2 separate regions of the Homo sapiens genome follow, and region 2 is linked to region 1. Evidence: promoter capture Hi-C in human tissues and cell types (Jung and others, 2019). All regions are on one chromosome and are shown on one strand. Each heading gives the region's core, a stretch centred on a gene start or on the middle of the fragment in contact. The rest is flanking DNA. Distances are from core to core; before and after follow the strand shown. Region 1 holds the start of SLC26A3 (solute carrier family 26 member 3). Region 2 overlaps LOC105375444 (a long non-coding RNA gene).

Evidence for each region. Contacts are between HindIII fragments. The study calls those that stand out against the background at their distance.
Region 2: a fragment that was not itself captured here is called in contact with the fragment with the promoter of SLC26A3 in region 1 in 1 of the 25 tissues and cell types used here (neural progenitor cells).

What each region holds. Positions count from the first base shown.
Region 1 is chr7:107,801,206-107,804,646 of GRCh38, forward strand. It overlaps SLC26A3 (solute carrier family 26 member 3), which reads right to left and starts at 2,018. Exons shown (of 21, transcript NM_000111.3): 1 at 1,906-2,018. The HindIII fragment of the contact is 6,982 bases long and covers 197-3,441 here.
Region 2 is chr7:107,854,499-107,857,623 of GRCh38, forward strand. LOC105375444 (a long non-coding RNA gene) reads right to left here. Exons shown (of 3, transcript XR_927850.3): 3 at 1,981-2,618. Among named protein-coding and RNA genes, the nearest start is that of DLD, 35 kb to the right of the region's middle. The HindIII fragment of the contact is 4,620 bases long and covers 1-3,125 here.

The sequences.
Region 1 (3,441 bases), core at 768-3,267:
CCAGAGCCAGGATGAGAAGCCACATCTAGTGAATAACTGACTCTCTCCACTACGTCTTCTTCTCTGCTACATATTCAATGTCAGGGGTCTCAGCCCCTACCCCCAAGAGAGACAAGGTAAAAGAACAAGGTGAGGCACCATCAGGGTCCTTGCTTTTGAGCATGAAAGCCTCACACTCCTACACTCAATATCCACAACACAAAACATGAGCCTGGTGGCCTGGGGACAAATCTCCTTGAGGTGACTTGCTTTATTCTTCCCCTTGCTTCTCAACAAAGTGACACAGAGGCTAGAGGAGCCTCTTCTCTTCTCTTTGGAGAATCAAAGACCTTTATTGTAGAGAAGCACCAGACTGTGTTATTACATATTTATTCTTGTAATTGAAAAATATTCATTCTCATTTTCTGAACGATTTTGTTTCTTAGTCGAATATGAGCTGTTTAGGAGGTATTAAACATTTGTTCATTTCTTTATATACTTACTTATTCCCTTATCCAGAGGGAGAAGGCAAAGTATGTATTGTGTTACCCCATTTTTCTTGTTTCTGAAATCAAATTAGTTGCTTCCTAAATTTTCATTAGGAATAATCCTTGGCCGGATGGGGTGGCACATGCCTGTAATCCTAGCACTTTGGGAGACTGAGGTGGGAGGATCACCTGAGGTCAGGAGTTCGAGACCAGCCTGGCCAACATGGCGAAACCCCGTCTCTACTGAAAATACAAAAAAAAAAAAAAAAAAATGCCAGGCACAGTGGAGCGTGCCTGTAGTATCAGCTACTTGGGGGGCTGAGGCAGGATAATCACTTGAACCTGGGAGGCAGAGGTTGCAGTGAGCAGAGATTGTGCCACTGCACTCCAGCCTGGGCGACAGAGTGAGAATCCGTCTCAGAAAAAAAAAAAAAAAAAGGAATGATCTTTATGCAGTCAAATTTCATGACACAGTTTTTCCAAATGACTAACTTACTTCAGAAAAGAGAATTATTTAGTCCAATAATTTGATAAATTGTTCCTCACTTGCATATATAAAGAAAGTTGTATAATCTTTTCCTGACATTTTAAAGAATAAAATAGATTTTATCTTGATAGAGTTAGTAATGTATGGGATAAGTACCCATACATTACTAATGTATTATATTATATTATACTACTTGTGGCATAGGGCATTCTGCTACTTTCCAGTGACCATTTTCTCCCCATCTCTCTTCTCTTTCCAGTCTCTATCCTTCTTACTCTCATTGCCTTTTCTTCTCTCCGTGTTTCCCTTAGTCTTGGACTTTCTAGGATGTCTAGCAGATAAATCTCTCACTTCTAGACCATATGTCCCCTACCCCCTCCCTTTTTTTTTAAGAGACAAGGTCTTGCCATGTTGCCTAGGCTGACCTCAAACTCTTGGGCTAAGCTATCCTCCTGCTTTAGCCTCTTGAGTAGCTAGGACTATAGATACATATCCCTATGCCTGGCTGGGACCAGATGGCCTTTCTGAATCCTTTCTAGTAGGTGATTCTCTCTCCTGGAGAAACTCTTTCCTTAAAGCTTGCTTTTTTTTTTTTTTTTTTTGCCAACCCTCAGAGCAGACAATCTATCTATAAAGTCAGATTTGAGTGGAGAATTAAAGGAATTATCTGAATAATTAAAACAAGAACACTAATATCTTTGAAAAGGCTATTTAAGACTTAATGATGCCTACAACCATTTACTTGTTAAAGTCTACTTAAATATTTATTCTACATTGCTAGCGCTCCAGACATACATGCATATCTTATTAGTGGATTCATTCAAAATATTCACACACATGGAATAAACTCAAGAACATAATAACTCCTAAATAGGCTTTGATCAGAAAAAATACCATTTTCAAGGAACAGAAAACCAGTTTGAATATAACAATCATAAATTTGGTTCCTACCTGACACATACTCTGTGAGGAGCTTCTGCAACAGTGGTACATTTTCAAGATAAAGTTCTAAGTTCTAGTTCTAAGAGGCAGTGTCCATCCACTCAGGTCTACAGGCTCTGTGTGCATCCATATGCATAGGGATGTCTATATATAGGCTATGTAAGACAGTGGACAAATTACCTTTCTGTCAGCTTTAATAATTAACTCTCATTAACTTTTACAACAATGAAAAGACTGCAATGTGGTCTTGACCTTTGAGACTTTGATCAGCAGAAGTGATGATGAAGATTGCTTCCTCAAGTTCCTTGTGAGATTAAACCACCAGTGGGTGGTTTAATGCACTTGTGTGTACGTAATTTCATTGGTTTGCAGAGATTGCACAGCAGATGCTCACGTGTACTTAAAAAAAAAAAGAATCTTCTCAAGGGTTATCTCCTTGACATTTCACCAACCTGTTTAGATGAGAGTTTAGTGGTGGTGTTTTTTGGCTGGATGACTCCATGGAATCTGTCATGGGCTGCAGAAGTGTGGTGTATAGGTTAACTCCTGGTATGATAAAGGCCCTCATTAGGAACACTCACCCAACTCCCAGCCACAGGCCATATCTGCATTCCAATTTCTGCCCCCACCACAGCTCTTCCTAAGAGCAATAAACCCTATGTTGCTAAACACAATGAATACTTTCAACTCTCATCTTACTTAAAAGCATTTGGCATTGCTGACTACACTTTCATGAACTCCTCTTTTTATTTTAAAAATTATTTAACTAATTAGTTAATTTTAGAGATGGGGTATTGCTGTGTTGCCCGGGCTGGTCTCAAACTCCTGGCCTGAAGTGATCCTCCTGCTTTAACCTCCTGAGTAGCTGGGATTAGAGGCCTCAGCCATCATGCCGGGCTAAAATCTTCTCTTCTTGAAATGCTAAAAAAAAATTTTTAACACACTTGTTTTTCACCTCATCCTTTTTGCCAATTTCTCCTCTAACTCTTTCTTTGGCATTTCCTAAGATTCTGTTCTGAATTTCCTTCTCCTCTCTTGCTACCCTCTTACCCTAAATAAGAGTCCTATGGCTCCCAGCAACATTCAGATTTCTAACCCCAGCTCTCTAGGTCCACATATTTAACTGCCTATTCCACATCTTTGCTTGGATGCCTCATAGGCATCTCAAACACGACACATATCGAGATTAAGACCTCTTGATCTTTCCTCCCAAATCTGCTCCATCTCTAGTCTTCCCCATTTCAGTAAAGAATATTCCCCTTTACTCATGTCAGAGACCTGGGAACCATCTCTGACACTTCTTCTTGCAGACCTTCTCCCCACCCGCAGCCAATCCATCCTTAAACCCTATTGAGCATGCCTCCAAAATACATCCCAAAGCCATCACTTTTCTTCATCTTCACTCTTACCTTTGCTGCACTTCTTGCTTCCTCTCGCAGCCCTCCCCATCTCTTTACCACTCATTAATCAGAATGATCTTTTCACACTAGTCCTCTTTGTGGGGCTGATGATTACACAGAGGGAAAACAGGCCTCCAAAGTCTTT
Region 2 (3,125 bases), core at 377-2,876, 53 kb after region 1:
GACATCTCTATATTGTACTTTTTCCCAATGAATTAAGATCACAAGAGGATATATGCTTTTCACAATTTGCCTCTGTGTCTTAGTGCAGTGTACATACTATTGTGAAAATATAGATGTAGCTGGGTGTTTGTGTTGGCTCTAAACAAACCAGTTCTTGCAATCCTGGCCAGTTTCCACCTGTGTCTACATATCCCTCAAATACAAGAACAATGCATAGCCCAAAATCAGCCTGTGTGATAGATGCAATCTGGGGAAGGTGAAGTTAACTTATGATGCAAAAAGGCAGAATGGAAAGCCATGGTTGGCAAGATGATGACAAAAGCTAAATAAATGTCCTTGACCTAGAACTACAGAGAAGATGTTCTCTGGGAAGACTTGTGAGTGCACGTCTCAAATTTCGAAACTCTGATCTTCCTTGCCAACCCCTACCCCACCTCTATTCCCCTCCAAAGCCCTAAATATAAATCGCTATGTCTTCTTTCACAAAATAGAGACCAAACTCCTCGTCAGGCACAGAATATACAAGGCTTTTCTTTGGTCTAGACTCTCTACCTTTCCAGCTTCCTCTTCAGTTATCTCCCTCTCATAATCCATGCTCCAGTCAAAGTGAGTTATTGTCCTCATCCTCCATTATGCTGTGTCTTACCCCCAACACCCCCAGGTCATGTTCCCTCTCCACTAGACCCTTTCCTCCCTGCTTCACGTGGTGGAGAGTCTTTGGCACGTGTTGACTCATGTCCTCTGGATCCTCTCCAAATGTGTGAGGACATTCCTCACTTGTGAGCCTTGTTGGGAGACAGTGCTTGTCTTCCTTTACAGAAGTTGAAAAGACCCAGCACTCAATCTGCCGCTACCTTGGCAGATAAGATGTGGGGAGATAGCCTTGGCTTGGTCCATCAGCTGCACCTATTAGCAATATTGAATCTGGAAGTAATGATACAAACAAGCAGGGCAAGGAAGACTCCCTTTGGCCGTGGTGGTTGGCAGGAGTGAGGGGGGCAGCAGCATGTGATTTCCAGCAGCCAGTCTGTGATGCCACACCACCAATGGCATCCTCACCTCACTGGCACCACTTTCCCAAATCTTGTTCTCCATGTTTCCTAGAAATTGTATGATCATCTGATAGTCTCTCTATACATTCTCTGCTTAAAATGGCCAGTCTGTTTCTGTCACTTGCAATGAAGACTCTGACTGGCTGGGCACAGTGGCTCATGCCTGTAATCCCAGCACCTTTGGAAGGCCAAGGTGGAAGGATCCCTTGAGGCCAGGAATTCAAGATCAGCCTGGACAACATAGCAGACCCCATCTCTACCAAAAAACAGCTGGGCATGATGGTGCATGCCTGTAGTCAAAGCTACTAGGGAGGCTGAGGCAGGAGGATCACTTGAGCCCAGGAGTTTGAGGCTGCAGAACAAGACCCTGTTTCTTAACAAAAAGAAAGCCTTTGATATACCTGGCCAGTTTCTATTTGTCTTTTGAGACTCCTCTCAGTGACTATTTTCTTGGAAAGCAGTGCTCATCCCTGCCCCACTCCTAGCCAGTGTTTCTCCTATAGACTCCCATAAAAGTCTGGTCCATTCTGGCTCAGCGTTTATGCTGACATTAATAGCATTAGTCATATTATTAATGCTGACATTAATCACAGCATTTATTAACACTGTGTCAGGACCTGCCACTAACTCACTTGTCCCCCTTCTGGGCTGTAAGTTCTTGAGGACACAGACTAGGTTTTGCCCCTCTCTATCCCTAGAACCCAGAACAGTATGTTAACATGGCATGCAGTAATAGCATTACAGCAACAGTACTAATACCAGTAATAACAATAACTTTTATTGAGCACCTATTATGTGCCAAGGTGCAGAAAAAAATGCTTATTTGATAAATAATGTACACTGAAAATTGCTCACCGAATATTTTTGAATACTTTCATACTCACAGAGTATTTTTGTATTTTGAATACAGGCAACCCTGAGGAAAAATTGGTACATCCCACTTCACCAATTAATTCCCTTTTCATTTTCTCTCTCTTTTCTCCTTCTGGATATGTCTCTTGTGTTCCGCTCTTGCCCTCAAATAGATGTTATTTAATACCTAGAAAGATGAATAGCAGTGGCTACAGTGTTAGTTGCTAGTGACTGCGCTTGCCTTTCAGAAGAAGCTTCTTATAGTGTGAAAAGTTTTCAGAAGGAATGAGGTCTTTATTGTGGAATGCCTTACAGTAGGCCATACTTGTTTTTATAGCTTGGGTGCAGGAGCTGGAAATAGAGGGAGAATGCCTATGTACAAGTGTGCGAAGGAGAGGGAGAAGCTGCTCTCACCCCACTCCTGACTTCTTGTCTGCTCTCTTCTCAGCAAAGTCCTCTTCTGGGGTCTTCCTAGGCCTCACAAAGCTGCTCCCCAGGCCTTGGCCAACCACCTTCCCTGGAGCAGGCTCTCGGTGAGAAAACCTCATGGAGAGAAGAGGCCAGGAGTCCATGGCCACTCCTGTTTACTTTCCCATTCCCATCCTGCATGTTCCTGCCTCCTGCCTGAGTGAACACAGATTGACATGCCCTCTGTGAATGGCTGCAGACCCTTGTTCCAGTTCAGCTCTGTCCAGCACCTGTCATATGTATTACCTGAAAGAAAAACCTGAGATCAGCAGAAGATCCTCAGAGCAGACAAAAATTTTTCTTAAAAACAACAAGACAAGTGAAAAACAGGACAAGGGTGGGGACAGGACAACAGCAGGCTGCACCCAGAGAGTGCACCCAGGTCATCGGCTGTTCTTCATTTCTGACTTCCTGCTGGCTGTCCTGTGAGGTTGAGGTTACGTGGTTAGAGAAAGCCGGTTACTTGTTTCAAAACAAACAAAGTCCTCAAATCCTTTGAACAGCTAAAGGAATAGAGCACTCCTTGAATATGTATTCTTTCATATCCTCTGAACAGATCTTTATTTACAAGGAAGGCTGGTCTTGGCTGGAAAAATGGTAGTCAGATGTAGATCAAAATGATAATCTCAGAACACAGCACCAAGTGTCTTTTGCATGGGCCATGGGACTTAATGTCTTGATAGAACAGAGGATGTCAAGGAGAAAAAACTGAAGGCCACAAGAAAATGTGAATTTTTTAAATAGTTTACTCTG